Linked DNA regions of Homo sapiens: region 2 is linked to region 1. Evidence: promoter capture Hi-C in human tissues and cell types (Jung and others, 2019). All regions are on one chromosome and are shown on one strand. The core of a region is centred on a gene start or on the middle of the fragment in contact, and the rest is flanking DNA. Distances in the headings are between cores, read along the strand shown.

Region 1 (5,794 bases), core at 401-2,900:
TTTAAAAATCAAGAGAAATTTAAGACACGATTATAAAAAAGACAGATTACCCCAGACATTTGGCATGTTAGAAGACACAGATAGATTTTATTTTAAGTATAGCTCCCTTGTTCAATGTTATGGATAAGATATAGCTAAAACATGAATAGTGTGTAAATATGAATGTGTAAATATTCAGAGAATGAGGCAGAGATTTGAAATAATAAATAAGGAAAATATTGAGCCCTATTGGAAATTACTTGGAGTTACTCACAAATTACATGCCACCTCTTTTTTAAAGACTACCATTATATGATAAAATAAAATTTGGGTTGAATAAATGAAGTTGGAGTCTCCTTATCTTCAACAGGAAGCTGGCTCATATACTTGAGAGATGCTTTTTGAATATTTGACTTTCACTTTTTGCCAGAATGAACATTTGGGGAATATATCTGGCTAGACCTGAATAATACCCCCCAATCCCCAAGAAACACAGGAAGAAAGAGAGAGAGAGACAAAACTGAGAAAGAAGGGTGTCTAGGCTCTTAAAATTATCCTAGACATTGACTAAGTCCTAGACTCAAGAACTATTATAACCTAGGAAAAGTCCATCTCTAGAGTTAACATTTTATAATTTCTCACGATAATTAATAAAACTCTACTGTGTTTTTTAAATGAATCCATTAATAAAAAATATATCCTGTGTAATAGCCTAAGTTTGGGGATTCAGTTAGAAAAAAGGTTAGAGTTCCCTGAACTTATAGTACTTATTTCTCCAAATCCTCTGGACGTGTGTAAGGTAAGATTTATTTGTTCCATAGCCATTCACTCAACAGAGATTTCTTGAACACCTGCTATGTGTCTGCTGATTGCTGGGCTCATACTAGTCGGCAACACCGACATGATTTCTGCCTTCAGCCTTCATAATCAGATACTCATACAATCACATAGTTGGACACTATTTAAAAAAAAATGCTGGAAAGAGTTTAAGGCAGGGGTGGGTATTAAGCCCTTCCTGAGGAAATGGGACTCGGAGGAGGAGGATAAATTAACGATATTAAGAGTGAGGACGGGCGTGGATATGCTAGCCAGAGGGGACCTGTATGGACAAAAGGCCAGAGAAACTGATTTGGAAAATTAAGGTCCTCCCCCGCCCCTGCTCCCCACCCCCGACCCCGCCCAAACTTCGAGGTCCTCAGAATGCTGGAGCACAGAACACTACTTCTTACAGAATGGTTTCTGTATTTTGACTTTTCCCCAAAGACATGCTCTACAAGGAGGTGTCTCTTGGCTATAAACACTGCAGACAAGTTTTTGCTTGTGCATCTTGTCCAGCGCGTTTTGCTTGATTTTTAAATCTAGATGCATTTAGGCGGGCGTACACGTTCGGATTTGTCACAGGCCACCTAACTCTATTGGTCTCACACACGTGTGCCACCTGTCTGACCCCTGGGAAACAGAGTTTGCAAGGTTTTCCCGTTGACTACTCGACTTTAGCACCAAAGAGAAGCAGGAGTGCAGAAGACAGGGCAAAATCGCCAACCCGGCGCAAGCAGCGCAAGCGCAGTGGGCGCTGGGGAGCGCGGAGGAAAAGGCGGGACGCCGCATGGTGGCCAGTCACTGCGCATGAGCGGCCCGCGTTGCCAAGACAGCTGGGAAGGCGTCTCCCGGAAGACGACCTCCGCAGAGCTGATGGCATTGAGATCCATTCCCGGAGGGGTCAGCTCCTGACGGGTTCCTGAGCCAGTCTTAACCTGGGCAAAGGAGATGAGGAGCCGAGCCTGATGCATTGTGATGGCCATCTGCCCAGAATTGGCCCAAACGGACAAAAGTGCTCTTGCAAACCTTTCTGATGAGACTGAGACTTTGAAGAACTCTACTGATGAGGTACAGACTTCCAGCTCATTCAGCTCCTCTGGAGGACGGCAGTCCTCGCCCCTGACCTCTGGGAGCAAACTGGAGAGGGAAAAGCAGACTCCAAGCTTGGAACAAGGAGACACACAATCTGAGCTTTTGGACTATAAAAATTATGAAAAGAAGTTGAGTAAAAAATGGATCAACTACCTCAAGCTCAAAGACTCTAACTTTGAACGGCACCAACCAGACACCAAACTTCCAACAGAAATCACTCGGGTATCAGATGAAGAATTGAATGCCCTGCAGTCTTATTGCACCATGAAGATAAATTTGATTCATCGTAGAGGGGATTCTAAGAAGAAGACGAGCAGCAGACATAAAAAGCTGCATCTTGGATTGGATGTAGAGGCTTCAGAGAGAGATGCCTTTAGTTGTACTGTACCCGATGAACTTTTGAACAGAATCTACTTTAAAAACATGAGGACAACGCCAAAACAGGAGGCAGCAGCTAAGCAACACATATCTTATCAGTGTCCCTATTGTAACAGGAAAAGAGCGGAGCTGGCCCTGTCTGCCTTTCTGAAACAAAAGAAGACTTTACTGGAGTCATTTCTACTCCAAGAGAGAATAGATGAACATCTTCATACCAAAGACTTTCTCACCCGTATTGGAGAAGCACATCAAGACTTTCCCAGGCTTTCAGATGACCCCAGAATAATCTGGAAAAGACTGACTGAGAAAAGTCATATCAGATACTCTGGTTTTGAAAGATCAGAGACAGAGCAGAAGTTGCAGCGAGATGGAAATAGTGCTTGTCATTTACCATTTTCTCTGCCATTTCTCAAGCGACTTACTCTAATCAAACCAGAGCTGGTGATTGTTAATGATAATGTGTAATGTGGATAGATGTCTTTGTTGTGTATTTGAGTAATTACCATAATTTCTACAGGCACTTGGGAAACTAACTTAAGACTTTACTATGCTTCCTTCACAGATTTGAGGACTAAGAACTTTCACTTTTTTTTTCCTATTATAGAAGGCACTGTTGTAGTTGGAATAGTTATAAAAACTTTTACAAAATTCCAAGAGAACTATGTTGGTAGTTTGGGCCAGGATGTTGATGGTACAGAAGCAAAGTAGTATGGGGATGTAAGAGAAACTTAAAAAGTAATAACTGTCTTTGGCGATCAAATGGCTATGGGGAATTAATAAATAGTAGATGTTTGAAATGTTATTAAGGCTCTGACTTGTGCGCCCGGATGAATGATCATTAATTTCATTAAGACAGGAACACCAGAAGAGGACTATGTTTGATGGAACTGTTGAAGAGTATGATTATTTGGACATATAAGGTGCATTTGGGACATACACATTGACAGTTTGAAGAAACATTTGATTATTTGTTTTTGCGCTTCAGAGGAAAGGTATAGCCTAGAGGTGCAAAATAAATTGGGGTAGGACTGGGGGAAGGGTGGGGATCAATGGCATATAGCTGGAAGTTGAAGCCGTAGATTGTCAAGCGTTTTTGGAAATGAATAAGAAGAGAAGCAGGGTTGATACAAACTCTTGAGAAATGCCAATTAATGGCTAAGTAGAGAAAAATAAACCTGCAGAAAAGATTGTGAAAAAAGTTATCAAGTGGATCAAGGAAATCAGGAATGTATAGTGTCATAGATGCTAAGGAATGAATATTTAAAGAAGGATAGTTGTCTAACCACATCAATCAACAGAGAAGCCATGTAAAGATGATTTAGTCATGTATTGGGCACTGCTGACCTTAGCAAAAGCCATTTCACTTATACAAATGGGGCAGACAAAATAGATTGAGGAAAAATGTAAGTAAATAATGAATGGATATAGGGTACTCCTTGAAATATTTAGCTGTAAGGGGAAGAAGAAGTAAAGCTGGGGTTAGGTGTTGAGTTTTGAGAGAAGAACGCTTAAACAAATTATCTAGATAGCCATTTTGGTCGTGAAGATTTTATGAACCTTCTGTTGTTCATCCAAATTTATGTAATGAGGAAACAGTATTATTCCACAAGGAATACCATGGCATTTTGAAAACACATTTATGGAGAAAAATGTTAGATGGCATTCTGAGAAGCCATTTATTATCTATTTCCTCTATAAAAATATAAAACCATGGAATTAGTGGCATTACCTGGAGATCACTTTTCTACATGTCCAACACCTGAATTATCTCAGTGAAAAAGAAATTTGTTTGCAAAAATCAGCACAGAAGAGTTTTAGTATTGTACTTCAGTATTACTCTTTGCGTTAAGACCTTCATTTATGTATAAAGATACTATTTTTTTCCCCCATAAAATTTAGCATATTTCCCCTTAGTAAGTCATTCTAAATGGAAAATAACCATTACCATTTTCATAATAACCTTTTATTTGAAATCCATATTATGTCATGCTTTATCTTTGACATCTCAATATATTCATGTTTTACATAATCAAAATTCTGAATAATTTTCCCTTTAGAATTCCCCCATTAAAGGGCATGCTCCACCCTTTTAGTCAACCAAGCTAGAAATCTGAGTCATCTTTTGTTCTTCCTTTTTATTTTTCAACTCAACCCCAAGCTATTTTTCAGCAAGACTTTCAGCATACAGTTCCCAAATGTCAGCATACAGTTCTCAGAATTACTATTTTTTAAATTTGTTACTTATTTATTATTGAGACAGGGTCTGGCTCTATCACCCAGGCTGGAATGCAGTGGTGCAATTACTGCTTACTGCAGCCTCAACCTCTAGGATTCAGGTGATCCTCTCACCTCAGCCTCCCCAGCAGCTGGGACTACAGGTGCGTGCCGCCACGCCTGGCTAAATTTCTTTATTTGTATTTTCAGTAGAGAAATTTTGCTATGTTGCCCAGACTGGTCTGGAATTCCTGAGCTCAAGCAATCCTCCTGTCTCAGCCTTCCCAAGTGCTGGGATTGCAGGCACGAGCCACTGTGCCCAGGAGCCCAGAATTATTTTTCTAACACACAAATCTGTTCAAGTAATTCTGTTGATTTAAAACAAAACAAAACTCTAAGTTGTTTATCTCTGATATGGAAATATTTCAAACTAATTAAGGTCACATAGTGGTTCTTTAACATCTGGCCCAACTTTACCTTTCTATTCTCATGTAATCCCTCCCCACTATATTCAAGCGTCTCTACATTACTTCCCTGAGCTCTTTTGTGTCACTATGGTTTCTATGTGCACATTTGTTTCCCCTAAATTCTCTCTTTTTTTTTTTTTATTATACTTTAAGTTTTAGGGTACCTGTGCACATTGTGCAGGTTAGTTACATATGTATACATGTGCCATGCTGGTGCGCTGCACCCACTAACTCGTCATCTAGCATTAGGTATATCTCCCAATGCTATCCCTCCCCCCTCCCCCCACCCCACCACAGTCCCCAGAGTGTGATATTCCCCTTCCTGTGTCCGTGTGATCTCATTGTTCAATTCCCACCTATGAGTGAGAATATGCGGTGTTTGGTTTTTTGTTCTTGCGATAGTTTACTGAGAATGATGGTTTCCAATTTCACCCATGTCCCTACAAAGGACATGAACTCATCATTTTTTATGGCTGCATAGTATTCCATGGTGTATATGTGCCAGATTTTCTTAATCCAGTCTATGATTGTTGGACATTTGCGTTGGTTCTCTTAACTTCCCTTTTCACCTGGCATACTCTCCCGCTTCTTCGTCGTCTTCATTCAGCTCTCAAATTTTATTGTCCTGTCTTTATGACTCAAAAGTTGAAAGAATATTAGAAAGTTTAGTTTGTAGAGTCTCCCCTCTACCCTGTAACTATTCAACCTCATTCTAGACTAACCTACCAGACCCCTGTCCTGCCAGGGTTAACTCTTTACTTGCTGGGCCATGGTGCAGACAGGTATCTTGGGATGAGAGCACAGGAGGAGAGAACTCACGGAATCAGGGAGTGGACATTTACCCA
Region 2 (5,118 bases), core at 1,433-3,932, 470 kb before region 1:
AAGGGCCAAGAGAACAGTAACTAAGAACAGAGAAGAGTGCAAAGGGATTCTGACCAAATTATGGAAAAATCGAAGCGTGTCATAGGATGTTCCGCATCTCAATGCCATTAGCAAAACATTCTAGGGAAGTCTAGTGTGATTCTGTAGAGCCAAAGGAGTTCATTAGAAATAGTTGAAATCCTCTCCCAAGTGTTACACAGGAAGAAAATTACTCTTGCTTTGCCCGGTTTCCACTCTCACCACGGGGATCTTACTCACCCCGGTGCCCAGCTCTACAAGGGAGGTTGTGGGCTACAGATCCCCAGACAGATTAGTTGGCAAAAGCGTGTTATCTCTGATGGACCCAAGCTTCGACTCCTGGACTCAACTAGCCGACAACAGGGTGAAGCCTTACCTTCTTATAGGACAGCTCAGCCTGCTCCGAAGTGGAGTAGCTGACCCAGCCTTTAAACTTCTCTTTGACTTCTTTAAACAGGCCATCCACACAGTCCTGGAGGAAGTGTTGGTAGTCAGCTGAGTCATCATTACCCAGGTGCCCGAGTGCTTCCAGAGTGAGGGGCTTCAGCTCTTGTTCGGTATAGGAATTACGACATCGGCTCATTTCCTCGGGAACCTGTGCGGAACATGACAGACAGAAAGGAGGTGAGTCCACCTGTACTCAATCTCAATGCCCATCAGTGGAAAAGACTGGGTAGGAACAATGGCCTGGTCCTTAAAGCAGTGCAGGCATCTTCCCGCCGGAGGTGGGCTATCATGCTGACCGCACGTGTTATCACGAGGATATGAACAGATCACCTCCATAAATGTATCTGAAATCTTATTTCCATGTAAGGTCTTTGGAAAGTTAGAGTAGGGGGAGTGAATTACATTGGTCAAAGCAGGTTTCTCAGATACGGAAGTGGATACAGCAGTTTAATTCCAGATAATTTGTTGCTTTTTCTTTCTTTCTTTCTTTTTTTTTTTTTTGAGAGAGAGTTTCATTCTGTTACCTAGTGGAGTGCAGTGGCAAAATATTGGTTCATTGCAACCTCCACATCCCTGGGCTCAGGTGATCCTCCCACCTCAGCCTCCCAAGTAGTTGAGACTACAGGTGTGCACCACCACACCCGGCTAATTTTTAAATTTTTTTTTGTAGAGATGAGGTCTCACCATGTTGCCCGGGTTGGTCTTGAACTCCGGAGCTCAAGTGATCCACCCACCTCAGCCTCCCAAAGTGTTAGAATTACAGGCGTGAGCCACTGCGCCCGGCTGCTTTTCCAAGTAAAGGGACAATTTCATTAAACATGATTAACTCTAGCTGATACATTATAATATATGTAAATAAGACATTCTCAGGCTATTTATACCGTCTCCAGCTGTGGAAAAGGTCTTCAGGTAAGACATGAACAAGGGTCAAGCCTAAGATTTTGTACCTATTCACATTATCCTTAATAAAGGAGCCAAACTTCTCAATTCCTTACCTGGAAAAGCTTCTTGCACTCGGCGATCATATGGGCCAGCCCTTGAGTGGCAGCTAGGTTTTCATTCAAATCTTTCTGATCTGGTTTGCCCAAACTTTGTTTTCTTTGCATTACCCTAGGTAGAAGAAATACAGGAGGGGAACAGTTCAAATATTTATATATTTTTCTTCAAGGTATTATTCAAGGAAACCCAAAGAAGAGAGAAAAAAAAATTTTCACTGGAATCTGTTTATTGTTAAGTGGATTAAGAGTGTTTTTACTTTGGTCACCAGAGTATCTCAGAGTTTTGTCAACAACACACAAAAAAACATTAAAGAGATATGCTTTTGATGAAATCCAGGTGATTCAAACCATTTAATTAAATAGGTTCCTACTGGGAACAGGGCAGCTTGTAGGGGCTGTGTTTGCATGGTGGGGGAGCAACTTCTGAGGAGTGTGGGAAAGGAGTCCCAGGGAGTTGGAGTAAAGGGTGTCATCATCTTTATCTGCCTGAATACACAGGCCCCCTCCCACAGGTGAGGGCTAAGTCCATTGTTTCCTTGACCTTTTGTCTTCATCTTATTTGATCTCTCTCCTCTACTCATCTCTAGCTCTGTATCCCATTGCAGTTGGAATGCCCCAGTCAACTTTAAGAACTATTTAAATGTGGCCGGGCGCAGTGGCTCACGCCTGTAATCCCAGCACTTTGGGAGGCTAAGCCGGGTGGATCATAAGGTCAGGAGCTCGAGACCAGCCTGGCCAACATGGTGAAACCCCGTCTCTACTAAAAATATAAAAATTAGCTGGGCGTGGTGGCAGGCACCTATAGTCCCAGCTACTCGGGAGGCTGAGGCAGGAGAATGGCTTGAACCTGGAAGGCAGAGGTTGCAGTGAGCTGAGATCGTGCCATTGCCCTCCAGCCTGGGCAACAGAGCAAGACTCTGTCTCAAAAGGAACTATTTAAACATACATTTAAACATTATATGACTTTCAGAAGCAACCTAACCTGCACTAGCATAACTAGGCCCCAGGCCTCTAGCTAAGAAATACTTTTCAAGTTCCTTTAGAGCTGAGGAAAAGGATCAGTTCGATGGATTTTGTCTGTGGGGGTTAAGTCCAGTGAGACTATTTTCTCATGCACGCCAACAGACCAGTCTCAGGTATGTCTTTATTAGCGGTGTGAGAATGGACTAATATAGCGGTCTAACCTTCTTGCTTGTTTCAGGAAAGAGTCCCACAAAACCACAGCTACGGAGAGTCCTAGGAAGAATGTAGGCTGCCCCCTGTGTGCATGCACCTCCCATGCAGCCCGTACCTGGGAGAGGAATTCTCTCTCTTCAGGGTGTTGAGATGGAAGAGGGAAGGCGCTAAGCACACGGCCAGGTTGGTTGGGGTCATCTGGTTTTCTTTTACGGCTGCTGTGACATCGCTCAGGAAATAAAGCAGGGTCTGCAGAACCTCCCGGTTCTCGTCAGGCAGCAGCATGATGGCAGCCTTGATGGCCTGCAGGCGCTGGTCCTTGGGCACATCTGCACGACACCAGCACTTTCTCCATCAGCTTGGTGAATTTGCATGGACATTGCAAGGAAATGTCCCAGAGCAAATATCGGCATCAAATACCTCAGCCCAGTACTGAACAAGCACTTGTAGAAAGTGCACTAGAGGTTAATACGGTAAAAGTTATGAATTGCCACCGGCGTCACTATCCTCAAGTATTTCCTGCCTCATGAAGGAGTGAAAAAATTTTTAAACACCCACAATACCCAAACACTCTTAAATCCACCTCAGAGTTCGGCTCTAGAGGATGCCTGCTCTTTTAGTTTACAGAACAGTTTTTTCTTTCCTAAGCATGAAAAAAAAAAATCCCTAATTTATCAATCTCAATTACTGAAAACACTATACACTTTTGTTTAGTGTTGATGAAAAATCTTATCTGAGATATGTACAAGAACGTAAGAACAGAGATCTCTCAGCCTTGAGTACAAAATGTTCAGTATCTCTGGAGATTTGCATGAGTTTAACTGATTTGTTCCTTCTTGAAGTGGGAAAAGCTGCTAAAATATTCAGTTCTGAATTGAACTGAACTGAAAATATTCAGTTCAGTTCAATTAATAAATAAAACACACTGAATTAGTAATTTCTTAAGTTTTAGAAAGCATGCTCGAGAGGCTATAAAAATGCATATGAATATGCAAATATATAAAAATGCAAATAAACCCATAAACAATCTACAGGTAGAAAATGCTGATCCCGATCTTCAGGTCTCCTTGAATACATAACTCTTTAAAAGAGCATGTGGTGGAAAAATCAAGTCACTCAAATGTAGCTCCATAGGACAAACTGATTAAACAGCTCCATGGTTACAGCACATAACAAATACCTCGGTGAGGAAAATGTGACCTGTGTTTTTATAAAATATGAAAGGATGAAACAACCAATGAAATAATCCAGACCAGCTCCATTTCTCATAAAATAAAGTCCACTGTGCCAATCCTAGAGACAATTTGAGCGCTAAGAGAGGCTGCTTTTAAATTACGTTGCTGTAATACCACACTGAGCCAAGAAAAACACAAGGCTGTAAAAGCCATAATCCTGATCTTGATCATTAATTTCGACAACTGTTTTCTTTAAGCTTTACATAAAAGTAAGAAGGGCATGGGTATTGTTCTCCCAAGTATTTCTGGCAGAGACTGAGATGAATAACAGAAAAAGATTATTTATTCATTTTACAGCAAGATAAAACACACAGACACCTGTGAAATTTTAAATCCAACGGCCCTCCAAGAGGGGTGTGAAGCAACTGAAATTTCTGTAGACAAGGTGGAGACAGAAAGAGATCTTCGTACCTGATCTTTATCTGACCAGCTCAGATAACACTGTTCTAGAAACTAATGAAAGTCTAACTTTTCATTTTGCACGTAAAAACGTACAATTGCATCAGTCATTAGAGACTGGGAAATTTATTTTCACATCATTCAATAATTACACAGAAACCTGTTCCACAAACAAGGCGGCAAGGAAGAAGGTGATGACATGGGTTTCCAAGAGGTCACCATGCAGACTCTCTTGTCAAAAGAACGCTATCAAGGCCAGGCGTGGTGGCTCACACCTGTAATCCTAGCACTCTGGGAGGCCGAGGTGGGAGGATCACTTGAGGTCAGGAGTTCGAGACCATCCTGGCCAATATGGTGAAACCCTATCTCTGCTACAAATGCAAAAATTAGCCAGACGTGGTGGCGCCCTCCTGTAGTCCCAGCCACTTGGGAGGCTGAGGTGGGAGAATCGCTTGAACCTGGGAGGCAGAGGTTGCAGTGAGCCGAGGTCACGCCACTGCACTCCAGCCTGGATGACAGAGCGAGACTCCATCTCAAAAAAAAAAAGAATGCTATCAAGGAAGCTACAAGCTTCAGTTGGTCCCATTTTTCCCCAATGCCAACAATCTTAAGATCAAAGGACACTCACATTGGTAGATCTGTAGAAAGGTTTCCGAGAGTTTGTTCGTCATTAGTGGCTCAGGAAGATCTCGAAAATACTGCTTCAGCATGTCTGCCACGTCATAAGCAGACTGTCCTTCGTAGTTGACACAGTCTATGGCACCTTCATTCATCTGGCGCAGAGCCTGAATCCGGGACTTGACCCCCGATTTTCTGAAGAGCCCAACCTGTCGGAAGAGCAACAC

Evidence for each region. The method cuts DNA at HindIII sites, captures the fragments that hold promoters and counts their contacts. A contact is called where the count stands out against the background at its distance.
Region 2: a fragment that was not itself captured here is called in contact with the fragment with the promoter of C8orf48 in region 1 in 2 of the 25 tissues and cell types used here (aorta and mesenchymal stem cells).

What each region holds. Positions count from the first base shown.
Region 1 is chr8:13,565,219-13,571,012 of GRCh38, forward strand. It overlaps C8orf48 (chromosome 8 open reading frame 48), which reads left to right and starts at 1,651. Exons shown (of 1, transcript NM_001007090.3): 1 at 1,651-3,070. The coding sequence starts at 1,774. The coding sequence ends at 2,733. It also overlaps a transcript of DLC1 not described here. The HindIII fragment of the contact is 18,894 bases long and covers 1-5,477 here.
Region 2 is chr8:13,089,858-13,094,975 of GRCh38, forward strand. DLC1 (DLC1 Rho GTPase activating protein) reads right to left here. Exons shown (of 18, transcript NM_182643.3): 12 at 4,902-5,100; 13 at 2,755-2,968; 14 at 1,461-1,575; 15 at 395-613. Among named protein-coding and RNA genes, the nearest start is that of TRMT9B, 150 kb to the left of the region's middle. RefSeq lists an enhancer at 9-1,208. The HindIII fragment of the contact is 3,549 bases long and covers 909-4,457 here.